Linked DNA regions of Homo sapiens: all the other regions are linked to region 1. Evidence: promoter capture Hi-C in human tissues and cell types (Jung and others, 2019). All regions are on one chromosome and are shown on one strand. The core of a region is centred on a gene start or on the middle of the fragment in contact, and the rest is flanking DNA. Distances in the headings are between cores, read along the strand shown. Region 1 holds the start of RNF125 (ring finger protein 125). Region 2 has its middle 3.7 kb from the start of GAREM1. Region 3 overlaps GAREM1 (GRB2 associated regulator of MAPK1 subtype 1). Region 4 overlaps B4GALT6 (beta-1,4-galactosyltransferase 6).

What was found. Contacts are between HindIII fragments. The study calls those that stand out against the background at their distance.
Region 2: a contact is called between a fragment that was not itself captured here and the fragment with the promoter of RNF125 in region 1, in 1 of the 25 tissues and cell types used here (dorsolateral prefrontal cortex).
Region 3: a fragment that was not itself captured here is called in contact with the fragment with the promoter of RNF125 in region 1 in 1 of the 25 tissues and cell types used here (dorsolateral prefrontal cortex).
Region 4: a fragment that was not itself captured here is called in contact with the fragment with the promoter of RNF125 in region 1 in 1 of the 25 tissues and cell types used here (small bowel).

Annotation. Positions count from the first base shown.
Region 1 is chr18:32,015,037-32,022,111 of GRCh38, reverse strand. RNF125 (ring finger protein 125) reads right to left here and starts at 3,287. Exons shown (of 6, transcript NM_017831.4): 1 at 3,085-3,287. The coding sequence starts at 3,248. RefSeq lists enhancers at 2,526-2,575, 2,220-3,092, 3,392-3,686, 3,093-3,965 and a silencer at 3,392-3,686. The HindIII fragment of the contact is 18,790 bases long and covers 1-7,075 here.
Region 2 is chr18:32,471,091-32,478,165 of GRCh38, reverse strand. No RefSeq gene overlaps it. Among named protein-coding and RNA genes, the nearest start is that of GAREM1, 3.7 kb to the right of the region's middle. RefSeq lists a silencer at 7,010-7,075. The HindIII fragment of the contact is 5,505 bases long and covers 681-6,185 here.
Region 3 is chr18:32,448,092-32,455,166 of GRCh38, reverse strand. The region is part of intron 1 of GAREM1 (GRB2 associated regulator of MAPK1 subtype 1); the gene reads left to right. Among named protein-coding and RNA genes, the nearest start is that of GAREM1, 19 kb to the left of the region's middle. The HindIII fragment of the contact is 4,181 bases long and covers 2,342-6,522 here.
Region 4 is chr18:31,648,237-31,655,311 of GRCh38, reverse strand. The region is part of intron 3 of B4GALT6 (beta-1,4-galactosyltransferase 6); the gene reads left to right. Among named protein-coding and RNA genes, the nearest start is that of B4GALT6, 33 kb to the left of the region's middle. RefSeq lists enhancers at 2,883-2,952, 2,963-3,062. The HindIII fragment of the contact is 9,490 bases long and covers 1-7,075 here.

The sequences.
Region 1 (7,075 bases), core at 2,038-4,537:
AACTTAATTTCAATGGAAAAGAGTAATTCATTTAGAATGTACAAATGGTATTAACGCTCACAATCTCTACTGCAGAAAGGACTCTGGTTAACATTTATAAAGTGGAAGGGGACCAAGTAAGTTTGCCAAAAGGAGGAATATGGAAATTCTGCCCACAGCCAGAACAATGGACATAGATTTGTCAAAACAAAGAACAGTAAAGAGAGGAAAGGCAATTTGTTCAGCCCTTGTAATGCTATTTTATGACTATTTTTCCAGTTGCTAGTTTCCTATTCACTTTAACAAAGAAAAAGATTAAACAAAAAATTTAACATTTTGCAAATTTATATTATCCTTTAGTAGAAGGAAAAATATTGTAAATGGTAAATTATAATATTCAAAGTCCAAACCGAGAAAACAATCTCCAGTCAGATCATTGAATAGCAAAGCGGTCTGTTCCAAAAAGAATCTTCAAAACGCCCACTGTTTATGTTTTGCACAACTTTAAAGTTTTAATGCTAATAATGACTCAATTTAAATGGAGATATCTTTAGGCTGTTATTGCCCTAAAATAATCAATATATTTTATGACTCACACAGCCCATCTTGGCTTCCAGACTGGCCTGTGGATATTATGTTAATAAGCTACATCTGGACAGCTGAGCAACAACATCAGTAATAGAAAGGAGGGTAAATTTAAGCCTCGAGTTTTAAGAACAAAGCTGAAACAACAGGCCTTGAAAATACAGCTACGGCCGGGCTCCATGGCTCACGCCTGTAATCCCAGCACTTTGGGAGGCCGAGGCGGGCAGATCACGAGGTCAGGAGATCAAGACCATCCTGGCTAACACGGTGAAACCCCGTCTCTACTAAATATACAAAAAAATTAGCCGGGCGTGGTGGCGGCACCTGTAGTCCCAGCTACTCGGGAGGCTGAGGCAGGAGAATGGCGTGAACCCGGGAGGCGGAGCTTGCAGTGAGCCAAGATCGTGCCACTGCACTCCAGCCTGGGCAACACAGCAAGACTCCATCTCAAAAGAAAAGAAAACACAGCTACGAAATAATGCCCAAAGCACTCTTTATTTATACATTGTGCAGGCTGCACACTTTTGTCCCTGGCTCACAGACGGGCAGTAGTGAAAACTGCTTTTCAGATACAAGGCTATAGGTATTAAGGATTACCTAAGTCCTTTCAAAACTTTCTTTTTTTTCTTTCTTTTTTTTGAGACTGAGTTTTGCTCTGTTGCCCGGGCTAGAGTGCAATGATGCCATCTCAGCTCACTGCAACCTCTGCCTCCCAGGTTCAAGCAGTTCTCCTGCCTCAGCCTCCCAGGTAGCTGGGATTACAGGCACGGGTCACCACACCTGGCTAATTTTTGTATTTTTAGTAGAGACGAGGTTTCACCATGTCGGCCAGGCTGGTCTCGAACTCCTGACCTCAGGTGATCCATCCACCTCGGCTTCCCAAAGTGCTAGGATTACAGGTGTGAGCCACCACGCCGGGCGTCAAAACTTTTGACTGCAAGTGCACAACATGTTTTTAAGGACTACCTAAATCCTTTCAAAAGTGGTCCTCAAAAACATGTTGTGCACTTGCATTCATAATAACGGTATTTCTTTCTTCCTGCTAAGCCAAATGCTGGTACAAGCCACTGTGGTATCACACATGGCTTCATCATACTATAGTCACCCTTCAAAGGACATTAAGTAGGCTTCCGCTCCTGATCTGTGCAGACACAACACACACACACGTATCCACGAAAAAAAATCAAAGCAAAGAGAGAAGGCTGGGTGCAGTGGCTCACACCTTTAATCCCAGCACTTTGGGAGGCCGAGGTGGGTGGATCAATTGAGGTCAGGAGTTCAAGACCAGCCTGGCCAACATGGTGAAACCCCATCTCTACTCAAAATTCAAAAACTAGCCGGGTGTGGGGGTGGGCGCCTGTAATCCCAGCAACTCGGGAGGCTGAGGCAGGAGACTCACTTGAGCCTGGGAGGCGGAGGTTGCAGTGGGCGGAGGTTGCAGTGAGCCGAGATAGCACCACCGCACTCCAGCCTGGGCGACAGAGCCAGACTACGTCTCTCTCTCTCTCTCTCAAACACACACACACACACACACACACACACACAGTAAACAGAGAGCACAAATTCACAGCTCCAACTCCACCAGTTATTCAAACACACATTAAGGATGTGCCAATTTTATATAGGGACTTTGTTTTTAAATTCTTCTTAGAAACGACCACGGCTTTGCACCAACTGTGAGTTTTAGCTAAGTACTATGCGGTTTTGAGAAAGTTATTTTACTCTGTAATTTCCGCCGGTTTGGAGAGACCGTGCGTAAAGCAGGTAGCCTGCCACCTCCTGTTACGTTGTGGCTGGGTTTTGAAGGAGTACATTCAGGGGCTTGGCGGCTAACGTCCAAGCCCCACCCTAGCAGGTTGTTAAACTCTAACAACTGTGGAAAGTCACTCGGAAGCTCCAGTTTGACTTGCCCTTTGAGGGGCTGGGTGTCTGTGTTGGGAAAGGGTAGCAGGGGTGGGGGTGGAAAGACACTTTGCACAGATCCTTGTTTGCTTAAGACGAGCCTCTGTGGGCATTCTGGGAACACGTGCACAGCTCCAGCAAAACAAAACGGACCCGGGTTTCTGGGGCAGAGGGAAGCGCAGCCCGTTCTACCGTGTTCAGCGGGGTAACTGCGCTTTGCGGGAGCCCCTGCCTTGTAGCTGGAGCTCGTTTCCTTTCCGTGCCTGGGCGAGCGCTGGTTCTCCAGCCAAGAGCACCCTCCCCAGTTGGCGAGCCCTGGCTCTGGGCGGGACCCGTGCCTGGATCCCCTTCTCTGGAGTTCCGCACCTGGGCTTCGGGAGCTGAAAGCGCAAGGGGGCTACAGGACCCGCTTGTTTATTTTTTCTCCTCCCGAAATCCTGTGTCACCTTCCGACCCGCGTTTTCCCCGTGGTCCTGCATCCGACGGGTCCAGGTTTCTCCCTGCAGCAATTTCCTAAGAGGCTGTCTTCCGTCCCCCTCCTTCCCCACACCATGCCCTCAGCTTCCCCACATCGCCCTCCTTAGGGGTGGGCGCAAACCGAGCTCCCCTGGAACTTACACGTGGCCACAGCGGGTCCGGACAGGCTGGTGTAACACCTCAAGGCACACGGCGCAGTCGAAGGACGTGACGGGCAACTCCGGGTCCCTCCTGCGCTCCAGGGCCCGCGCGGTGGCAGAGGCGGGCGCCGATTTGCCGCTGTCGGTGCTCAGCACGGAGCCCATCGCTGTGCCTCTCGCCCAGACAGCTGCGAAGCACTCAGTGCCTGCCGCAGGGTTGTTTTGTTGCCGTGCGGTGGAGGAAGGAAGTCCCGGCCCAGCTGCGATCGCCGCCTCCCAGCTCTCCCAGCTCGCGCAGCCCAGAAGCCACCTCCGCCGCTGCGCCCAACCCTGGTCTAGGGCAGGGCGAGCGCGCGGCCGCGGGGCTGAGATCTTCGGCAAGCCGCCTAGGTTAAGGCGCGGAGGCGGAGGCGGCAGCCGCCCCGTGCTCTGTCTTGTGGTATTGGGAGGATTGAAACCTGAAACCTCAACTGCAGAGAAGAGGACTTGAGGCAGCAGTAAACCTTCCAAGCTATCACACACAGCTGCTTTCCCCACTGTCAGAAGTTAAGTGCGGGCGTGGCCATGCTTAATGATAATCAGAGAACAGCCGCTTTTAAGGTGAAGTGGAAGACCATCCTCCACTGTTGTCATCACAATAAGCTGCAAAAATGACCTATGACCTATGATTGGGCGTCTCCTAAGACGGTGCTATCGCTACTCTGTCATCCAATCAATAGTCCATTAATGGAGAGATAGCCTGGGTAGTGGAAAGAGTCCTGGAGATTAGGATTCCAATCTTACCTCTCCTACAGAGATTCTAGTGCTAAACCCTGCCATCTCCAGTTTCCTCTGCGGCTCAGGATTTCCTCTGTTGTTTGTACGCTCCCCACCCCGCCCTTTAAACATGATCAGCCAGGCGCGGTGGCCCACGCCTGTAATTCCAACACTTTGGGAGGCCGAGGCGGGCTTGAAACTCCTGCTTGAGGGCAGGAGTTCGAGACCAGCCTGGCCAACATGGTGAAACCCCGTCGCTGCTAATAATACAAAAATTAGCCGGGCGTTAATTTACACTTTTTACGAAGACTTATTTAGTGCCCACTGCACGCCAGACTCGGTTCTAGTGATGAAGACACAATCGTCAACAAGCAAACAAAATCCCAGTTCTCACAGAACTTACTTTAAAAAACAAAAACAAAACTTTGAGATAATTATAGATTCACATACAGTTGTAAGAATAGTACATAGTATATAATACACATATACAATAATATATAATATAACACATGGGATATAATAACGCATATAATACATGTACGTATTTAGCAGGCCATAAACTTCACCCAGGCTTTACTTTTAATTAGGAGATATAGGCCGGGTACCGTGGCTCACGCCTGTAATTTCAGCACTTTGGGAGGCTGAGGTGGGAGGATCACTTGAGCACGGGAGCCAAGATCACACTACTGCACTCCGTCCTGTGCGACAGAGTGAGACCATGTCTCAAAAAACAAACCAAGCCGGGGCAGTGGCTCACGCCTGTAATCCCAGCACTTTGGGAGGCAAGAAGGACAGATCACCTGAGGTCAGGAGTTTGAGACCAGCCTGGCCAACATGGTGAAACCCTGTCTCTACTAAAAATACAAAACTTAGCTGGGTGTGAGCTACTTGGGAGGCTGAGGCACAAGAATCGCTTGAACCGGAAAGGTGGAGGCTGCAGTGAGCCGAGATCATGCCACTGCACTCCAGCCTGGGCAACAGAGGGAGACCCTGTCTCAAAAAACCAAAACAGGCTGGGTGCAGTGGCTCACGCCTGAAATCCCAGCAATTTGGGAGGCCGAGGCAGGTGGATCACAAGGTCAGGAGTTCAAGACCAGCCTGGCCAACATAGTGAAACCCCGTCTCTACTAGAAATACATTTCTTTAGTAAAAATTTTTGTACTAAAAATACAAAAATTAGCCAGGTGTGGTGGCACATGCGTGTAGTCCCAGCTACTTGGGAGGCTGAGGCAGGAGAACCACTTGCACCCAAGAGGTGGAGGTTGCAGTGAGCCGAGACCATGCCACTACACTCCATCGTGGGTAACAGAGCGAGACTCTGTCTCAAAAACAAACAACAAACAAAAGGAAGATACATGTAATCAATCCATAAACAAATGAACAAAATCATTTCAGATAATCAGAGCCATGAAGAAGATAAAACAGTAAATGGCAATGAGGAGAAGAATAAGCTCAGAGAAGAATTTTTGGATGAAGTGACATTTGAGCAGAGCCATGAATAATGAAAAGAAGTGAGCCATTCAAAGATTTAGGAAAAAGCGTGGACTGGGAACAGTGAATGAGGCAGAACCAAAGAAAGGAAAGACCTATGGAGCTGGAGCATGGGTGGTGGGGGGCAGGCGGTGGGGGGGGGGAAATAAGATGAAAAGGTAGTTATTCCCATCTTCAAAAGGAAAACAAAAACCTCCCTTTCATCCCACTTATGCCTCAACTCCTGCCCCATATCCGCTTCAAGGCCAAATCTCTTGATCTGATCCTCTACATTTTGTCATCATTTCTTAATTATTCACTTCTTATTCAGTCCAGTCTGGGTTCTGAACCAACCTCTCCACCTCCATCTGTCCAAAAACTGCTTTATTATCAGTGTCACTGGTGACGTTCATGTAACTAATTCCAATAGATTCTTTTCAGCTATTTTTTTTGCTTGACCCCTCAACTATGTTTGTTAGTGCTGACCATCCCCTCCTTCTGGAAACACTCTGACTTTCCCTCTTTCTTTCTGGCTATTGTTTCTTCTCCCTTGCCAGAGTCTCCTTCTCCACTGGCTCTGGGCTGGAGATCCTAGGATTCTGTCTTAGGACCTTTTCCCTTCTCCTCTCTCTCTCTTTCTCTCTTTCTCTTTCTCTCAAAAATCACACAGGTTCTGTCACTATTTCGGTTCCAAAAACTTTCACATCTTTATCTCTACCCCAGGCCATTCAAATGTCCAATAGCCTAATAGCTTACATGACTGACCATTTGACATAAACACCCTCAGCCCAATGTCTCCAATAATGAACTCATTATAGTAGCAGCCTCCTCCAGTGGTTGATCTCTCTTTTAGCAAATGGCACTATGATCCACTTTATAGCTCAGTCTAGACACCTGGAAGTCATCCTTGATTTCTTCCTCTTCCTCATTCACATTGAATCAAGCATAATCACAATCCTGCCTCCAATATGTATCTCAGTAGTTCTTTTTTTTCTGAGATGAAGTCTCTCTCTGTCGCCCAGGCTGGAAGTGTGCAGTGGCGCAATCTCAGCTCACTGCAACCTCTGCCTCCTGGGTTCAAGTGATTCTCCTGCCTCAGCCTCCTGAGTAGCTGGGATTGCAGGCGCATGCCACCACACCCGGCTAATTTTATTATATTTTTGGTAGAGACGGAGTTTCACCATGTTGGCCAGGCTAGTCGTGAACTCCTGACCTCATGATCCGCCTGCCTTGGCCTCCCAAAGTGCTGGGATTACAGGCGTGAGCCACCATGCTCATTTTCTTCTATTTCCATAGCCACCGCTTATTTTAAATCACTGCATTCTCTTGTGTGACTTAATGGCAGTAGTTCCTAACTGCTCTACCCGCATCCATCATTGCCTCTCTCCAGTTTATTATCCACATGGCAACTAAAGTGATCTTTTGAAAAGCAAACATCTTGTGTCACCCCATGCACAAAATCCTTTAATAGCTCTCCTAATCCTTAGGATTAAATTCCAAATCCTTAATATTATCTAAAAATTCCTGCAAGACTTACTTTTGATGGCAGGAATCAGAAATTCAACTAAAAGTGCCTCGTTCAGTAAGGATATTTATTATCGACCAGCTCAGTGGCTTACACCTGTAATCCCAGCACTTTGGGAGGCAGAGGCAGGCTGATCATGAGGTCAGGAGTTCGAGACCAGCCTGGCCAACGTGATGAAACTCCATCTCTAATAAAAATACAAAAATTAGCCGGGCATGGTGGCACACACTTGTAAGCCCAG
Region 2 (7,075 bases), core at 2,184-4,683, 460 kb before region 1:
TGTAAATACTTAATGCACAAAAGAAACTATTATTTTGAATGGTGGATTTTAAATTGCAGGTTGTGACCCATTATAGATTGTGAAATCTATAAAGTTAGTGGGTCATGATTAGCACTAAAAATAAAGAAATAAATAAAAAGTAAAAGATCAGGATGCAGTTGATATGATAAGTATACAAATAAATACTGTTTTATATAACTTTTGTTTCAATTTATATGTATGTGTGTACTGGGTCACAATGTGATATGTATTTCTAAATGGAGATTTGTTATGTATTGTTTTAAAAGCAAACAAGCCTGCATGAAATTTAATTTGCAACTGGTGATATTTTCCTTAATATTCCTATATTGGCACTGTAATATCTGTCTTATCCAGTGATCTACTTAAGAAAGGCATGTCCTATATCAAAAGGGAGCAATGACAGTAAATTTGAGCTTTTTTTTTTTTTTTTTTTTTTTTTGAGACAGAGTCTTGCTCTGTCACCCAGGCTGGAATGCAGTGGCGTGCTCTTGGCTTACTGCAACCTCTGTCTCCCAGGTTCAAGTGATTCTCCTACCTCAGCCTCCCCAGTAGCTGGGATTACTGGCACGCACCACCATGCCTGGCTAATTTTTGTATTTTTAGTAGGGATGGGGTTTCACCATGTTGGCCAGGCTGTAACTACTGACCAAAAGTGACCCGCCTGCCTCAGCCTCCCAAAGTGCTGGGATTACGGGCATGAGCCACTGCGCCCAGCCAGTTTGAGTATTTTTTAAGAGACTTTCAGAAAGTGTCCATATGAGATATGCTGTTTTATGGTATTTTTATCCATTCAACATATGTATATCACAATATATATGCATGCATATATATCACACTATATATCTATTCACTACACACACACACACACACACACACACACACACACAGACACACACTGTCTACTATATGCCAAATGCTAGGGATGCAGAGATAATAAAGAAAGCTCTTCTGGGGGTGAAGTCCTAGTAAGGAAGATAAAAAATTAACAAACAATAACACATATGCTAATGGTTTTAATACATGTTGGAACTGCTAGTCTAGAAGCATAATCTCTACTTGGGTAATAAGAGTGCAGATCTTGAATTCAATGAAATTCAAATTTTCAGATGAATAAAAAGAATTGGGGGCCAATCTGATAGGAAACATTGCTATTTGGAATTAAAATCTCAAAAATCTTGAACATTTCTAGACTTGATGAATGTTGTTTATAATTAAGAGATTAGAGCAGTGTGAAAGAGGCAAGAATGACCCCGGGACTGAGCAAAGCTCGCAGGCTGTTGCATCTCTGATTCCAGCACTTATGTCCTACTGCAGTCACCAACCTGCCCAAGAGAAAAGATGAAGGGGATGCTAAGAAGATAAAGTCAAGGTGAAGGATGAACCACAAAAGACTTGCAAGGTTGTTTGCTAAATCTGCTTCTCCTAAGCCAGAGCCCAAACCTAAAAAGGCCCTTGCAAAGGAGGGAGAGAAGGTACTCAAAGGAAAAAAAGCATTCTTGATGCTGGCAAGGATGGGAATAACCCTGCAGAAAATGAAGATGCCTAAACAGACCAGGCACAGGAAGCTGAGGCGCTGAAGATGCCGAGTGCAGTGTGTGCATTTTCAGTATCTGTGTACTCTGGTGACGGCAGTCTGAAATATGATTTTTTGCCAAATTATATAAAAGTGCAGAATTTTGTTTTCCTGTTCTTTTAGGCTATGTTGTTAGCACACCAAACACTTCATTGTGGTTTTCTGAGGAAGGGGCATATATTACTAATAGAATGTTCCTGAAGCTGAATTGATGTGGGAAAATACCTTTCCTTTCTAGTTTTAAGAGACTTCCTCTTGGCATCCAGGAGGAAGGATTCCTTGAGGTTGACACACATAGCCACCTTGGCACAAATGCCCGGTGGTGTGGAAAAACTAAAATGCATTTTTATGTCCTCTTCTCGCTCTCTGCCTTCAGCATAGATTTAACTCCCTTAAACCCATACACCTGTTGGAACCAGACCCTCCCAAAATCAGTTACCAGTGTGCCAGGCAATCTGGACTTTCCAGTGGTACCATTGAGATGGCATCCCTCAAAAGAGCAGCAGTTCCTGTTCTAGACTGTGGCTCGTCAGATAAATTCCACCATTTCTTGAAAGTCAGGGTTGGCTCATGAAAAATTAAACAACATGCTAAATGTGAAATGTCAACCCTTCATGTAAACTTTCCCTTCCATGTTGGTTTTCCTCATATCAGAGTGTCCTGGCTCACATAATATTCTAGCGGTCAAGTGTGATATCAAAGTTCACAGCCCTAGTGATTTTTTAGGTCTCCACATTCTTTTCCCTTTCACTTAATTGCCATGTGATCCCCAGAGCTAACTTGAAAGACAGTCCCTGGCTAATGCCTTTTGCAGTATCTATATCCTCATTTTCTATGAAATTAAGTGTAAAGCCCTTGGCATGGCATAGAAGGTTCTTCCCTTACGTGGCTGGGTCAGGGTATCAAATGAAGAGTTCGTTTGGGTTTTAGAGTGGCTTTCTGATTTGAGTAGTCCATTGAAGGAGAGAATTTGAAAGCTGTTCTATACTCTTAATGACTGTCTGCACATGTCCTGCCTGATACCATGGTTGTTTATGAAAAGTATCTTTTTTTTTTTTGAGACGGAGTCTTGCTCTGTCGTCAGGCTGGAGTTAAGTGGCGCAATTTCAGGTCACTGCAACCTCCGCCTCCTGGGTTCAAGCGATTCCCCTGCCTGAGCCTCCCAAGTAGCTGGGATTACAGGCACGCGCAACCATGTCTAGCTAATTTTTTGTATTTTAGTAGAGATGGGGTTTCACCATGTCAGCCAAGATAGTCTCGATCTCCTGACCTCGTGATCCGTCCGCCTCGGCCTCCCTAAGTGTTGGGATTACAGGCGTGAGCCACTGGGCCCGGCTGAAAAGTATCTTAATAAAGCTGGATACAAGGTCAAGCGTGGTAGCTCCCAGCACTTTGAGAGGTCTAGGTGGGTAGACTGCTTGAGCCCAGGAATTCAAGACCTGCCTGGGCAACATAGCAAGACCTGGTTTCTACAAAAAATAAAAAAGATTAGCCAGGCATGGTGGCATATGAGTGTAGTCCTAGCTACTTGGGAGGTTGAGGCAAGAAGATCACTTGAGCCCAGGAGTTGGCGGCTGCAGTGAGCCATGATAGTGCCACTGCATCCAGCCTAGGCCACAGAGAGAGACCCTGTCTCAAAAAAATAAATAAATAAAATAAAAAATGAAATGAAAAAATAAAGTAAATAAAATTTTAAAGCTGTATACCATTTGGCTTGGGGAAAAAAAGGAGTTGCAGTGACCTACAAAATAATATAGAGTGAGAAGTTGACTCAGTGCATTGATTACTCAATTCAACAAACATTAATTGAGCACTTGCTGTGTGCCAGGCATGGTAATAGGAGCTGGTAAAACAGAGGTAAAAAAAAAAAAAAACTCTTTGTGTCCACAGTCAATTGTTGTCTAGTAGGCAAAGCTAATATAGGAAGATAATTAATCAGAGTGCAACTAGTACAGTCAAAAGAGGGTATTGCAGGTGCAATGGTAACACAGAAAAAGGAATCTCCTTGGAGGAGGAGATACAGCAGCTCATGGAATGCAGGAAGCTGGAGCTGGAATGAAGTTTTCACAGTAAGAGAAAAGGAGAAAGGCATTCTAAGCTGAGAGAACAAGCTCTACAAGGGTATGCATTACCATGATACATTTGGGCAACTACAAGCAGGTGCTACCCCAGATCATAGGGTATTAGAAGGTAGCCAAACAGGAGTGAGGTTAGGGAGGCAGACCCAGCCACATAAGGGAAGAACCTTCTACGCCATGCCAAGGGCTCTACACTTAATTTCATAGACAATGACGATATAGATACTGCAAAAAGCATTAGCTAGGGACTGTCTTTCAAGTTAGCTCTGGGGATCACATGGCAATTAAGTGAAAGGGGAAAGAATGGGGAGACCTAAAAAATCACTAGGGCTGTGAACTTTGATATTGCACTTGACTGCTAGAATATTATGTGAGCCAGGACACTCTGATATGAGGAAAACCAATATGTAATATTTTTATCTTGCAAAGCTGATAATGCAGAGAATTAACAAGTTATGCATGTATAAACAGTAGACTCACAGTTAGGAAGCTGGCAAGTGTCTGTCACTTGAGTCCTGTAGTGTCATTTACCTGATTCACCTTTGGGCTTATCAATAGCATATACAGAGTCTTCATGATCACTGCCTGGGTCTGCTGGGTAGGAGGCGGGTTCACTGTGGAATAAATTAACCCCACAGACTCTAGATTTGCAATGAAGTCCCCCAGCTAGGTTTGTCATTTAAAAAGTGTTCTTCTACTCCTTGCCTGATATAACTATTTTCCCAAATCTAATCATTTCTTATTTTTCAAATCTATTCAAATCGTCAGCATTTATCTCTTCATCTTTTCTATAAATTTTGCCCTTTAAAGCCAATGGTTTTTAATAATAATAGCAAATGTTAATACTTCCATAGCACTTCCTATGCATCTGGCACTATTCTAAATGCTAAATGTATATTAAATGATTAAATTCTCATATCAACCCTATGAGATGAGTACTATTATTATCTTCATTTTTCAGAGGAGGAAACAGCAAGTTTCCCATGACATTAAATAGAAGCAGAGCCACTAATCAAATCCAAGCCATCTGGCTCTGGAGCTGATATTTTAATTCACAAATCTCAGTTTGTAAAGGTACTTAGTAGGAACAAGGGACCAGTGCATCAATTGTTGCCTTAAAGAAAACTTTTCTTGGATGTTCCTTTTCATAAACTTCAAAGTCCTGTAAGCTTTGCCCCTGCACCAAGTTGTAATGCTTTTGTATACACAGTTTGCATTGTTCCAACAACCTTAAGAAACATGTTTGGAAGTACAGTTCAGCCAGACTGAAAGATTACCCCTCTCAACTGCTTTTTGTTTTTGTTTTCGGCAGTTTAACCAAAACTCTCCATCTCACAAATAAAATCCTTCTGTAAGAGTTCTTCCAGGACATGAAACTTACTAAGAATTTGCAGCTCACTAAAATTTCTTCCTTTTAATACTCAAGATTGAAATAAAACCTTTTCTGCAAGGTCAGCAATAACAGATCTAATGTAAGTCCTTTATTGATTTTTAAAAAGTTGATTACATTAATCTTTTTACTTTTTATCTTGTCTTTAGGTCAAAAGTCACCAGTCCTTTTGTGAGAGGAAACTACTTCTCTTATTCTCTGAAGCTTTTAAAGAGAATATAAAAGTAACAAAGTCATTTTTTTAAAAATCAGCCTACCATATAAGGGTTTAGGATCTACTTACAGGTTGAAAGACCCTTGACCCTGCCCAATCTTAGATGTTTCCTATGTCATTTTTGGATTCTGAGCTTTATTTCCAGAAGTGATTAATTATTCAGAAAAAGAAATTAGCTGGCACTTAAATCTTTAAAGTTTTGAAACTTTTTTTTTTCAGACAGAGTTTCGCTCTTGTTGCCCAGGCCAGCGTGCAATGGCACGATCTCGGCTCACTGCAACCTCCGCCTCCCGGGTTCAAGCGATTCTCCTGCCTCAGCCTCCTGAGTAGCTGGGATTACAGGCACCTGCCCCCACGCCCGGCTAACTTTCTGTATTTTTAGTAGAGACGGGAGACGGGGTTTCACCACGTTGGCCAAGCTGGTCTCAAACTCCTGACCTCAGGTGATCCGCCCGCCTCGGCCTCCCAAAGTGCTGGGATTACAGGCGTGAGCCACCGCGCCCGGCCGAAACACTCTATGTGAGCAATTCTTAGAACTTTATGGACTTCTGATTCTGCATACACTCTATAGTAAAATACTTCCCACTTTTTTCCAAGACTTTTTCAAAAAATCAATGTGAATGACCCAAAGGTCAAAACTTTCAGATGAATTTTGTGAAAATTATCGCTAATGCTTCAAAGTGAGAGGATCAGGAAGGTGGGTGTAGAAGAATCTGTGTTTTTCTTCAAATGTTAATGGAGTGGTTTATTAGCACAGACCTTTTAAGCCAGGCCACGAAAAGGCAGCGGGATGTTTTCAAGTCCCCTTGGGCTGGCGAAGCGGGTACTTGCTGTACCTTATCAAGCACTGAACATTGAATACGTGTTGAAAACAGAGCAGATACGCAACCTTAGCAACCACTCACCTCTGCTATTTTAACAAAATGTTAAGCAAGCGAAAGAAAGAGAAAGAAAGACAGAAAGAAAGAAAGCAGATTAGCATACAAGGCAGGACATGCCACCTTTATATTCTGAGCTCTGTCCACAGTGAGCAGGCCGTGTCAAACATCGGGAGAGACAGAGAATGATTGATCATGCAAAGCAAACTGTAGGTTTGAATCCCAGCACGGCCATCTACGAGTTATAAAATCTTGCCAAACTACCTAATGTCTTGGTACATATACCTAGAAAACGAGAATGATCCCAACCTTTAAGATGAGAAGAGAACTGAATGGGAAAAGCGGGTGAGAACAGCTGACCCCAGCAGCCTCCCAGTAACCTAGTTTTCCCTTCCCATCTCCGTGTCTACGGTGTTTGGTGGCCTCATCAACTCCCGTCGCCTCCAGCAGCTCGTTCACTCAGTGAAGGTCCTAGACCGAATGGCCACCTTCCTGTATGTGGGTACTCATCACCCACCACCTTTCCGCTTTTCGGTGCTTTGCCCTTTTTATCTTATCTAGTAGCCAAAGCTGAGACTGTTGGGAGTCATTTCCAGCTCCGATGGTAGAGGAGTAGGGTTGAGGGGAAACGCCAAGGCGTGCTCCACGCCTGCCGTCCGCAGCCCCGTTGGGCTGTGGTACTCTTCTGACCAAAGTCTGGGTCACCGGGAAGCAAGAGGGAGCGCCACTAAAGGTATCTTTTGTGCCTTGTATTTAGCCACCGCATTGCCAGGATGGGAGTGGAGGCGGACGGTGCCCGACACCACGACTCAGGGAGCGATACCTGAGCTCGCTCGGCAATTCCCGGGCTCCGGGGACGGGCCTGGGCGGGGAAGGAGCCGGGGCGCGCAGCAGCACCCGGCGAGACTGCAGGGCGCCCGA
Region 3 (7,075 bases), core at 3,183-5,682, 430 kb before region 1:
ACCCAGACTGAATAAATACAGGAGAAACAAGTGTGAGATTAGTCCCTGAGATTTTGTCTACTACATAACCTTTGTGTAAGATTATAACAAAACCTCGATCCTGGATTCCATGCAGACTTTATTAGGTTGGAGTTGTGCGTGTTTAAAAGTTTTATTCCTTCCCTTTTTATATTTGTCTTTTTAAGCTGTCCAAGAGCAGAGAGCAGGGATCCTGTCTTGTCTTTGCACTGTTCATTTCACACAGTTCACATGATCTGGTGTGATGTTCCAACAGATGGATCAAAAATTTTGTCTGAATGACTCATCTACAGAGTTGTTGGGATACTTCAGCCTATCCCTAAAGTATTTACAAGCTTCCCCGACTAATACACACACAGGTGCACACACTCTGTTCTTTACAATCTGACTTTTTAGCAGGTTCTGGGCAAGGAAAGAAGTGATGATTCCAGCAGCCTCTTCCTGCTCAAGGAATTTAGAGTTCTTTCTCAGTCTCTGACTTTTCCAACTGTCTCAAGCCTGGAAGAGACCCAGAATATGAGAATATGTCCTACTTTTAAGACTTAGTGAATTATATTTGCATATATTAGCCTGATGGAAAGAGGTTGAAAAATACTCTGAGGCTTGTGAAGCCAATTCAGCATTAAAATTTTGCTGGGAAATCATTGAGATTTGGCTATACTACTTAATCAGAAGGTGTTAATTTGTCTGGATGTATTGTAAGAATATATTTCAGAATGGAAATTAACATATTTCATTGATTCTAAGGTGTACATTTTCATATCTCTGAAATCAGCATGTGTCTTATAGTTAATGGCATGACATAGTTTTATCAGCAGCATTGTGTCTTGGTGGTTGTCAAACAATGATTGTCTTGCAAGTGATGGCATTCTAAATTGTATGAATTGTGGTAGTGCCATGGAGTATCTTTGGGTCCAGTAATTCAATGTGTAAAGCAAACATAAGAAACAAGGACTTTTTGTGAATGTCCCAATACAGGGTGGGAGATAATCTAAACTGAAAATCAAGTAGTATTCCCTGAACCATCCATCCCTAATGGAGAAAGTGTTAGCTTACTCATTTAACAACAGGTAAGATGAGGTCACTATTATATACAACCATAGTGTAATTTTTTCTCATATTACGTTTTCCAACTTTAAAGAATAACTTAATTTTCATACTCACCCCACCCCCCTATAGATTCTGACCTCTATGAAGGCAGAGATTGTGTCTTTCATGTTCATCATTGTGTCCCCAGCACTAACACAGTTTCCAAACTGTGTTACCTTGGTAACATGTAGGTGTTCAATAGAGCCTTGTTTAAGGATTCTTCTTTGTACAATATACAACACACATGCACACAGGCATGTGCACACATAGTGTAGTTGATCGAATGGGGGTCCTGCCAGCAGATTTGTCCACATCGAAATCCCTGGAACCTGTGAATGTTACTTTCTTTTGAGAAAAGATCTCTGCAAATGTAATTAACAGTCTTAAGAGGAGTTCATTCTGGATTACCTGAGTGGGCTTTAAATCCAATGACAACGTACTTATGAGAGAAAGACAAACAGAGATTTGAGACAGAAAAGGAGGCAGGGTAACGATGGTTGCAGAGATTGGGGTAATGCAGCCACAAACCAAGGCTTACCTGAGCCACCAAAAGCTAGGCGAGGCAGGGAACAGAATCTCTCCTAGGACCCTCAAAGGAAGTGTGGCTGTGCCTGCAGCTCGGTTTTCGACTTTCAGCCTCTAGAGCTGTGACAGAATAAATTTTCTATTGTTTGATGCCATTCAGTTTGTGGTAGTTTATTATAGCAGTGGTATGGTTTGGCTGTGTCCCCGCCCAAATCTCATCTTGAATTGTAGCTCTCCTAATTCCCACATGTTATGGGAGGGGCCCAGTGGGAGATAATTGAATCCTGGGTGCAGTTTCCCCTGTACTGTTCTCATGGTAGTGAATAAGTCTCACCAGATCTGATGGTTTTTTAAGAGGTTTCCCCTTTTGCTTGGTTCTCATTCTGTCATTCTTCCTGCGGCCGCGTAAGACGTGCCTTTCACTTTCCACCATGATTGTGAGGCCTCCCCAGCCACGTGGAGCTGTGAGTCTATTAAACCTCTTTTTCATTATAAATTACCCAGTCTCGGGTATGTCTTTATCAGCAGCGTGAAAATGGACTAATACAAGCAGTCACAGTAAACCTGTTAAAGACACATACTCAAGCACACACCCACGTGTAAACACACACACATACATACCTATATAAGTTTTGCTACCCTATAGTTAATAACATGCCAAGTTTCTTAAAAAAAAAAAAACGTAGAAGTTATAAGTATAAAACCCCCTTCTCTGGATCCTCAAAGTAACAGTTTCCCCTAACATTCATCAGTAGGCTGATGGGTAAGTGGGAGTATGGTATGTGGTTTCCACACTATTCATTTAACAGCTGTGGAGCATGTGCCTGCTGCTGTACAAGCACAGTAACAAGGGCTAGGTGCACAAAGATGAATACATGTGATACTCATCCTCAAGGAGTTCAGAGGCCCACTGAGTAGGTAGGTGCTTAGACAATTAAATACTGTCATGTGATAAGCAAGGAAATGCTTCAGCCCAGAGGCCAGTTAATGTTGCCTACAACTCTTGGGACAGGTTTAATAGAAAATGTTAATTGATCACTGAACTAGTTGTTCAATGAGTAGAATTTTGTGAGGTTTTAAAGAGGGAATGGTGGCCTGACAAAGGTTTGGAACGCCTGAACAGAGGCATGTTAGGGGAGGGCAAGTTGGGAAACAGATTTTGAAGAGCCGCAATATACTGACATTTGACTTTTCTCATCTGGCTAACTTGGTGGCTCTTAACATCCCTTCCCTTTCCGGGACACAAATGACAGATGGTGTTACAACAGAATGGATTGCAACAGAATTCACTGGGGTCCTAAATTTGATGAACTCTATTATAAAAATGGGTAACAAACTACAGTCATGTATGTTATAATAATATGTAAGCTCCTAATATCAGTAGAGTCTCAGGAAGGACTTGATGCAGAATCTTGGGCCATTGTGCACGTCTTGGCTAGCTAATGATGACCTCCATCTCTTCTCCTTCTCAAGAAAGCATGTCAGAATATGAGTGAAAGTCAAGTCTTCATAGAACTTGAATTAACTCTAACTTGATTTAACTCTAATTTTTATTTTAAAAATACCTTTTGTCACCGATTTCAGTATTTTACTAAATGCTAGTATCAAGCAACATTCTGCAGCTGGCTCTGTCACTGCATCATGTTGAAGATCATTATCCAGGCAAATGGCTCATCCTCATTCCTGTGGTGCCTAGCACAGTGCCTGTTTGCAAACATGCTCCTCCAATGTTTGTTATACAAACAGTGGGAAGTGCTGAAGGGCTGTAAATATGGGAAAGGCCCAGATTTTTTTTTGTTTAACAAGGGTTATTCTGGTCATTTTGGAAGATCATTTAGAGCAGAAAAAGTTTGGAATTAGGCAATATTTGGAAGCTATAGGGTTTATAATCAAAGAGAAAGAGGGCCTCTAGGCAAAACTAGATTTGTGGGAATGTAGTGGAGCAGGGTGAGTGGGAAATATTATAAGGTAAGATTTCCAGGATTAATAACTGGATAATGGAATATGAGGAAGAGGGAAGCATTAAGTAGTCCTGAGGTTACTGACTTGGGTACTAATGCCCTTATCAGAGATAGAGAAGCAGGTTGCAGGTGAGTGTATGAGGCAGAGTAGGCGAGATTTGGTGGCAGTAGCAACTCCAAAGTGTTAGTTGGTTTAAAACAGCAAGGGTTTATTGTTCACTTGTGCTGCATGAAATTTTGAAGAATTAGAATAGTTGTGGGAATAAGAAAGAATAATTCTGGTCTTCACAGTTGAGATGAAATGAGCTAGCTTGGGGGTGGGGGGATGGGGGCTCTGCTCTCCATCATCATCCTCATTGAGGATCCCAGGCCTAAAAGCCTCAGTTTGTGCTTCCATGATTGTTTTCATTCTTGTTTTTGTTTGAGACAAGGTCTCACTCTGTCATCCAGCTCTGGAGTGCAGTGGCACCATCATGACTCACTGCAGCCTCAGCCTCCCAGGCTCAAGTGGTTCTGCCACCTCAGCCCCTCTAAGTAGCTGGGACTATAGGTGTGTGCCACCACACCTGGCTAATTTAATTTTTTTTTTAATAGAAATGAGGTTTCCTTATGTTGCCAAGGCTGGTCTCAATCTCCTGGGCTCAAGCAGTTCTGCCTCAGCCTTCCAAAGTGCTGGGATTACCACAGCTGTTGAGGAAAGACAGAATATGGTAAATCATGCCCTGGCCCCTTAAAGCTTCTGTTCAGAAGTGATGCACCTTGTATCCCTCTTACATGTCATTGTTACTGGCAAGACCCATGGCGACACCCAACTTTCAACAGGGTGAGGTACCATCTTTCCATATGCTGGGATTATGACTCCAGTAAGTGCTAAAGGCTGGAGGTATGAGAAAGCAGCAAGATAATTTGTGGCTATGTTGAGGTATTGAAGAGGAAATTCAGTTCAGGAGTCAGAAATCTGGGCTTGCATCTTGAGAGAATTCAGGGCTAGAGAAATAATACTGGGAAATTTCAATGTAATGGTCATAAATCAAGCTACCGAGTGAATCACATTGATCAAGAGAGAATTGAGCCAGTGCTGATGATGGTAAAAGATCAAGGTTAATGCTTGTGGTTACACATGTTGCAACCCCTAAACAGTTTTTTTTTTAGCAGCTTATTAGAACTTTTAAATAATTGTATGTAACAGTTGGCATAAGGGTTGAATTAATCACTTAAACAGGATTTAGCTTTTTTAAACTCCAGAATTGCTGACTTGCATTTAGGGATTTAAAAGGTACCCTTAGATTTTGCAGTAGGATTTCAGCCAATTTTCTAATCCAGCAGGGAAGAGAAAGTATTGCAAAGGATAGCCGTTACAGTCGGAACAGAAGATCAGTTATAAGTTGATTGATACTGATTGCTGAGTACTCAGAATATTAGAATATCTTTAAAAATTTTCTGACTGGTTGTGCCACAGACAGCAAGATATTAACTTAACCTTACTGTAATAATATTCTTTTTATAGCTGCAATTACTGGCAAAGGGAGGTAGTTAATGGCACTTTTTCCCATTGGCTAGTGTTCTTACATAAGGAGGCTTGCTTTTTCTGTCCATTCTTTTTAAAGGTTCCTATGCCTTTGCCTGCCCAATGTCCATAGGGGTCTCCACCTAAATTATTCACCTTTTAAGCTTTTTATGTAGACATTGGTGATTACCCAAAATAGACTCTCCTCCCTTCAAGATTATGTATTAACAGGAAAATGAAAAAACAAACCTGGTTTACTGCATGTCACCATTCTCCCTGCAAAGGAAATTTTGAAGAATTAGAATAGTCGTAATGATAAGAAATAATAATTCTGGTCTTCACAGAAGATGAAAGAATATTTATTAAACTTCTACCGTGCCTGCCCCCCAACCCTTTGTTTTTTTGAGACAGTCTCACTCTGTTGCCCAGACTGGAGTGCAGTGGCACAATCACAGCTCACTGCAACCTCAGCCACCCACCTCAGCCTCTTATGTAGCTGGGACTACAGGTGTGCACCACCACACCCAACTAATTTTTTTTAAATATATATGTTTTGTAGAGATGGGGTTTCGCCATGTTGTCTAACTTCTGGACTCAAGCGATCCACTTGCCTCGGCCTCCTAAAGTGCTGGGATTGCAGGCGTGAGCCCCCGCACCCAGCCTAACTTTCTGCTTTTTAATAACACTTTACTATGAATGATTAAAAACTTTTTAAAAAAAGGAAGCTATAGCTTTTACCTTCTTAACAAAGGCACATAAAACTGTTAAAAGTAACTCTTCCATATTCCCCCAAACAAATCCGTTGGTGTTTATTTCTGTATAATAATTATAGTTAGTGTTCATTGAGGACTAATTATGGTGCCAGCTGCTGTACAACACTTTACATACATTATCTCATTTACTTCTCAAGAGCTCTTTGACATAAGGAATAATTTGCTCAAGGTCACATGGCTGAAAAGCGGAGAAGCCAGCAACGGAGGCAGTTCTAGATCTTGTGCTTTAAACTCTGGCCTGCCTTTCCTAATTCTCAGACCAACAAGTAGTGTTTTCCCATTCGTATTGCTTATCATAAAATGAGAGAGTCTTCTGTCCATCATCTTTATTGAAAGTTGAACCACTGTAAGCAAAAATACCAAGGAGAGGTCTGATCCCGCTATTGAAATAAAAAGAACCATGAGGGCCCTGCAGAATTCAACTGGACCTTGGGGATTACTCACTGAAGAAGGTTTTCTATTTTGAATGTTTATTGTCTTCCTACCCCAGTCTCCCCAACAAGAAAGACTTGGGGTGGAAGGTGACATATAACAGCAAAGTAAGAACTGTTTGCATTTTTCCTTCTTGGTTTGTAAAAGACTTGTTCCCAAATTGTCCTCAAAGGTACATAAATACATACATATGATATTTGTATATATATAAACACATATGTATAGTAATATCCTTCATTTACCTTGGGGTGAGACTTGAAGAAACTCCAGCCTTCTTTCTAGAGAGCCTCTGCTTCTGGTATTTACCTGTCACAAAGCCCATACCTGTTGTCAAACCCTTTCCTGTAACTGAGGAGTGCATTTTACGATTATGGAGTAGAGTAAGTAGCAAGTGCTATGGAAATTAAGCCAGAAACAGGCCAGTGCCATCACAAATGACAAGTAAGAGCATAACAGACATGATCGGGGATGTGGTCACACTTAGGTTCTGACATCAACAGATAATCTCCCCTCCTCTAGTATACATTTGTACCAGGTGATAATTTTACATTTTTTATTGATTACAACATTAGCAGTGATTCTTGCTTAGCTTTTTGGAGATCCTGTGAAAGCTGCAAATAGATAGGTATAAACACAGTTCTTCACATAATTTCAAAGTATTCATGGACCACCCTCCACCTGTGTGAAGCCAAGGACTCAGACCCTGAGTCCTTAATAGTACTTTGATAAATGATAGGTGTCTCTTTGACAATGGGGCAAGAGAGATCCCA
Region 4 (7,075 bases), core at 2,314-4,813, 370 kb after region 1:
TAGTGGTGGCCGTGGTGGCCATGGTGGCAAGGTGATTTGGTAGAAAATACAGCCACATACAGATAAGGCTTTAGAAAGGAGCCATGGGTACAGCCAACATAACGAGGCTTCTGCCAAGAGAGCCTTGCACGAGCTGCCCGACAGAGCACTTCACTTGTCCTGTGACCTCCGCAAAGTGGAGGCTTAGTTTACCTACCTGTAAAACCTGGGATTCCAATACCATCTGCAGAGTGTGGTAAGGATAGAATGAAGCACACAGTGCTTAAAGTTTGATAGGTATTAATTTGATTCTCCCTTTCCTTCTCCCTCCTTCTTTGAATAATAGAGCCAGACTTTACAATGGTCAAGGAAATGAGACACCTAGGAGAAATGTGTGGAGTTTAGAAGTTTTATTATTAGCTATGTATCCTTACATTTTTTTACTTAAAAAGATAGTTTTCATTGATAATAGAGAACAATGCAATAAAATACATAAGTATAAAATCTTATAATAGTTACACAAAATAATTGAATATGATTCTTTCCCAAATAATAATTAGAAGGGATTTGTGTAAGAATTAGATCTACTTAGATGAAAACCATTCAAGTACAAGTAATATTTACTTATAGTCACTAAAAGTGAAGTTAAGGCTTAACACTGGTGTATTTGATTATTCTGTTGTAAACTTCTTTGATTTTTACTTAGTATAGCAATGGAAACACTGGCACTGGATTTCTGTAAAGATAAAGTGAATTTTTCAAACTAGAATACAGATAAAATGTGTTTCATACATTTCAGCAGTGTTTCATATTCAATAGTGGCCAATTACACTATAAAGCCTATTTTAATATGTATATTTTATATGAAGAGTATGAGTGAATACTTCTTTCTTGTTTGTTAGTATTTATAGATTTTCCAAAGGGCAAATCCACATTCAGCTTTATTGCATTTATGTAAGATTCTTTGTGCTAACAAAGTAAAATAGAAGTTTCACCTTGTCTAAGGCTAAAAATTAATAAGTGCTTAGTGTGGATGTTTTGATTTTAATTTTTATGGGTGAGGTAGAAATGGAAAATGTCAATTGCATACTCTGCATTAGACTGAAAATAGACTTACCTTTAGTTTTCCTATCTTTTAATTCTTATTCAAATAGAATACGTTTGCAGTGACCTTTATATATTCTGTTCTTACTATTTGTGGAATAGTTCCCTTTATGGTTTAACCCTGATAGTTTCTATAGTTGCTAACCTTATGAATATAACAAAAGCTCCAAGGACTTCTTGAGATGGATTTAAATAATTCAAATGAAAATCAGCAAAGAAGGAAAAGATAAGCAAACAAACGTCAGCAAAGCTCAAATAATGCTAATGTAACAAACTGTCATGCATATGTTTATTGTAAAAAAAAAAAATGAGATGGGAGCCATTTTAGAGTCAACAAGTCATTGATGAACAGCCGCTGTGCAGCGGTCCCTGTGTTGTTCATAGAAGCAGGTACGGGAGAGACAAGACTGAACGTGGTCATGTGTGTGGCAGCTTGGAGCAGGTAACACACTTGGAGAAAGGCATGCTATGAAAAGATTATGAGGCCGGGCGTGGTGGCTCATGCCTGTTTCCTAGCAGTTTGGGAGGCTGAGGCAGGTGGGTTACTTGAGGTCAGGAGTTCAAGACCAGCCTGGCCAACATGGTGAAACCTGTCTCTACCAAAAACACACACACAAAAATTAGCCAAGTGCAGTGGTGCGTGCCTGTAGTCCCAGCTACTTGGGAGGCTGAGGTGGAGTATCGCTTGAACCTTGGAGGCGGAGGTTGCAGTGAGCCGAGATCGCACCACTGCACTCCAGCCCAGGCAACAGAGCGAGACTTTGTCTCAAAAAAAAAAAAAAAAAAAAAAAAAGAAAAAAGGTTATGAATGTGACAAAAGGGAGACAGCAGTTTATTTTGGAAGGGAAAGGACGATGTCAGAGAGAGGTGTCATCAGAACTGGGTCTTACAAGATAGCTGAGAGAGAACAGCATCACCACAAGGGAGGCTCTGTGTATTCCCGGACTGGAGAGTGGTCGGCTCTGCCCAGAGAGGGTGTGTTAAGTGGCGTGTATGGGAAATGAAGCTGGCTAGAAGGGTCTTGTGTAAAGGACTGAGGAATCTGAGGGCCTTGTGGGTTCCATCATTCCTAGGCATCCATGAGGTGAGCTTCAGAGGGAGAAGAGCCTGTGAGCTTACATGCAGACAGTTGATTTATGAGCCTGTATGCATTTCTCTCAGGTGACAGTGCATGATTTTCAAAGGGTCTAGGGGCAAAAAAAAAAAAAGCAAAAATAAACAAAAAACACCACTGCTTTAGGGAAATGGAGAACCATCGAAGGCTTTAGGCAGGTGAATGATGGACTAGGATTGTATTTTAGGAAGATTATTCACATGAGAAGCTGAACAATGGGTGAGAATGGAGAAATACTGGGATCAGCAGGAGACCAATGAGGAGCTTGCTGCAGGAAGCCGACGGGCAACAACAAGGGCAAGTGCCAAGGCTGTGGCGTTGGAGAGAGGAGAAGGCACAAAAAAGAACCTACAGGGTGCCATTGGCCAGATGTGGCGACCAGTTGAGGGGTGAGGGTTAATTTCCAGGTTTCTGACTTGGTGACCATGAACTGAAGTGTGATACAGAGTAACCGTCGCATTTGGAGGATGGGGAAGTTAGTGGGTTCCGTTTGGGCCGTTTTGTTTGAAGTTCAAGAGGGTTAACTTGGGGTCTGCCTTTAGTAAGAGATCCGGACTGAACATCAGAGGAAGTGAGAGGGGAAGAAGGCTGAGAGTGGGTCCCTGAGAAAATCCGTACTTGTGAGGTGAGTGGCGGTTAACAGAAGAAGGGGAGACAGGAACCTAGAGAAGCCAGAGGGTGGTGTCTGGGGGGCGAGGCAGGAACACATCCCAGAGAGACAAGACTGCTGTGTCTTGTCACACACCTCCAGACAGCAGGGAGAGTGAGGAACTGTGAAAGGGCCACTGAATTTGGTGCAGAAAACGAATGGAGAACACAGCAAGCACGAATTCAGTAAAATGATTGGGAGAGAAGCAAAGTAGACTCTTGAGAAGTGCGTCAGAAGTGTATGTAGACTGTAGGTGAAATGAGAGAAGTTTGGTGGCAAAGGGAAGGAGATTGGGGTAAAGGATCTGGAGGAGGTGGAGGTAAGGGAAGAGCTCTTTAGGAAGAGATGGACTTGAGCATGTTGTAGGCATCATGGAAAGAAAGGATGGAGAGAAGAGGCCGGGCGCCGTGGCTCACGCCTGTAATCCCAGCACTTTGAGAGGCCGAGGCGGGCAGATAATGAGGTCAGGAGATCGAGACCATCCTGGCTAACACAGTGAAACCCCGTCTCTACCAAAAATAAAAAAAATTAGCTGGGCGTGGTGGCGGGCGCCTGAAGTCCCAGCTACTGGGGAGGCTGAGGCAGGAGAATGGCGTGAACCCAGGAGGTGGAGCTGGCAGTGAGCTGAGATCTCGCCACTGCACTTCAGCCTGGGAAACAGAGGGAGACTCCATCTCAAAAAAAGAAAAAGATGAAGAGAAGAGAACTGGGAAGGATGAGGGAGAAGCACAAGGGAGGTCTCCATAGAGCCAGGTTAGAAAGTGAATGGAGACAATGCCTCAGGTTGAAGAGTGAGCATGGAAAGCCTCAGGAATGCCTCCTCCCCTGAGGAAGCCCGCGGTTTATTTGGAGATGAGGTGGAGAGGTAGGGTGCTCGTGCCTGCTGTGTCTGTTTTCCTAGTAAAGCAGGAGGCCGTGTGTCCCTGAGGGGATGGCCAGGAAGGATTGAGCAGCTTGAAAGGGAGGAGTAAGTATTTAAAAAGTTGTCATAGGGAATGAAAAGTGAAGTCAACTAATCATAAATTAGAAGGTGACTAACAGGTTATCCTAGAGAGCCCCCCACCCCACCCTGGTGGAGTCACAATACAAAAAAAAAGTGACACTTGTTTTTGCTGAAACCTTACTATGCTTGAGGCAATATGTTAGGTATTGCCACCCAAATGATGGGATTAATCTATATGCTTACGTGCTTTCTTTAGTGCTGTTTATTAGGTAAAGAATTGGAGCATGGATAATTGTCGCTGCAAGGATGGGACCTGTAGCTCAGGTGTGGCAGGTTGAGGGGGTGGTAGATAAGGTGTTTGTCAGTGTGTAGGTGCTGTGATCGGGTGAAGGTCATAGAGCTGCATTTCTCTTAAGTGTGATTCAGATGATCTACACTTGTTAAAAATGCAGCTGGGGGCTGGGCGCGGTGGCTCACGCCTGTAATCCCAGCACTTTGGGAGGCCGAGGTGGGTGGATCACAAGCTCAGGAGATTGAGACCATCCTGTCTAACACGGTGAAACCCCGTCTCTACTAAAAATACAAAAAATTAGCCGGGTATGATGGCAGGAGCCTGTAGTCCCAGCTACTCGGGGGTGAGGCAGGAGAATGGTGTGAACCCGGGAGGCGGAGCTTGTAGTGAGCCGAGATGGCGCCACTGCACTCCAGCCTGGGTGACAGAGCGAGACTCCGTCTCAAAAAAAATGCAGCTGGGATACCTGTTAAAAATGAAGCCTCTGAGCTAAACCCTAGACTGCAAAAGTCAGGGTTCTTGGTTGCAAACCACAGAATATACTTTATCTGATTTAAGAGAAAAAAGAATTCATGAAAATATATTAGAGAGCCCAGAGACAACCTGGGTGGCTAGAGAATTAGGTTGAGAAATTGAGCAGCCAGAACAAGGCTCAGACCGCTTTGAAGCATCTCCTGCTGCCACTTGTCAGGGCTTAAACCTCCTACCAGCATTGCTCAGGTCTGGAGACCAGAAGTGCCACTTCTTGGTTCCTGTAAAGCTAGAAGCTTTTGCCACCACTTCGGGTGCATTTGGTCATATGACCACTCCTACCTGTTAGAGGGGTTTGGAGAGTGGGTTCTAGCTTTTTCCTTTGAAAGGCAGGACCCAATGGTGGGTAGTTCAAGCCGTTGAAATGTGTTCAGTTAAAGCCAGTGGCCATAAACGTGACCCATGAGCTTCAACTGACACAGAAACTTTGACAATGTGGCCAGTCAGCTGCATTTTAAACAAGCACAGCTGGTAATTCTTAGGCACACATCAAAATTAGCAAACCACTTTATACAGAGGCCAGTGTGGATATAGCAGAGAGGACTTCAAGTCTTCATGGAATTGAAGAGGGACTTCATGGGAGGGGAGTGGGAGAAGGTGAAAGAGAAAGAGGCTTTAATGAGAGGGTGCAGTGTCAGAGTTGAAAGCCAGTCATTTCTAGGTGACTGTGGTTCAGGGTCTGGACACAGAGCTGGGTGTCACTGTGAATTCACTATTGTGAATATTGCTGCAATGAACATAATAGTGCATGTGCCTTTTTGGTAGAATGATTTATTTTCTTTTGGATATTTACACAGTAATAGGATTGCTGGATCAAATGGTAGTTCTGTTTTATGTTTTTTGAGAAATCTCCAAACTGCTTTCCACAGTGGCTGAACTAACTTACATTCTCACCAACAGTGTATAAGCATCTCCTTTTCTTCCCAAGCCTCGCCAGCATCTGTTGTTTTTTCACTTTTCAATAATGGCTTTTCCTATTGGTATTTGATGCTGTCTTATCGTGGTTTTAATATGCATTTCTCTGATGATTTGTGATTTGGAGCATTTTTTTTTGTTTGTTGGCTACTTGAATGTTTCCTTTTAAGAAGTTAGTATCTTTTGCTCATTTTTTTTTTTTTTTTTTTGCTCATTTTTTAATGGGGTTGTTTTTTGCTTGTTGAATTGTTTAAATTCCTTATAGATTCTGGATATTAGGACTTTGTTGTATGCACAGTTTTGCATAAATGTCTTAAAGAAATATTTTAGCACCTGATGGAGCCAGGGAGTAGAAATGCAGGTAGGTGGAAGCAGGGATGAGACAGGAATCTTCCTACTCATTCATTCATTCATTCATTCTGTGTCCAGGCATTGCCCTTGGCAGTGGGGATGTGTGACTAATGCTCTGTCTTATGTTTAGAATGCTCAGGTTTGGTTGCTTCAAGAAAACTTGAGTAATAAATCGTTTGTTAAGCAGAGGTTGTCAAATTTTATAAGTCGAGAAGCTTAAGTAAAGCATTTGAAATAGGCAGTATCTAGTGTTGGCTTCAGAAAGGACAGGAGGTGACCAATGGCTGGATGACTCATAACTGTTCAGCCTCAGAGCTGTGCTTAGGAGGCAGCACAGAGTGTGGGAGGGAATGTCCCATCTTGTCATAAAAATGCTTTTCTAGCTTTGGAGAGGAATTTACCCTAAGGGACATTTCTAGGGGAAATTCAGGTCTTTCTCTGACACTGTCATCAGCTCTTTGAGCTGTGAACATTTAAAACCCTGAGGGTAAAACAGACAAAAGCCAACATATCCAGAATTAGGTTTTAGATACCAAAAAATAGATATAGGCTCCAAGCAAAATGAAATAGTTATTTAAAACTATTGATTTATAGAACAAACAACTCTCTGGAGATTATATGCCTTAAATTTTACTTGAAATGTTAGAAAAATATAAACGTAGGTAATTCATAGGTTTTGAATATTTGTTATTTTAAGAATTATATTTTAATAGAAAAAGTAAAATCCTAAATCATGTCATGTGATACATTATCATCCATAGCACAATAAGCCTGTTGTTTGGGCCCATGCATGCCTGGCTTTCCCAGATGGGCAGCATTGCTGCATATCTTGCAAATTCAGCATTAGGATATAGTAAATGTCCTACATAACCAATGGTGCAACTAAGTTACCCTCACACATGATAGAAGCAGTTTGGCACACACGACTGGAAGGTAGCTTCCAGCTGACTTGAGTTCCCTGTCCTTCACCTTGACCTTCTAGGTACTTGGCAGCCCCTCCACTCTTCAGACACTCAGTTCTCCTGCTCTTTCCTTTCTAACCCCAGCGCCACCTTCAAAATAGTGAAATTCAGTATTTGGTAAATTATATTATTTACATTTGCTGATTGTGATTACACTGCTGGGTAAATGGATTTCAGTCAACATATTTATTTTCTGATCTTTAAATCTCTAACTGGGAAAGAAACCACTTGTGCC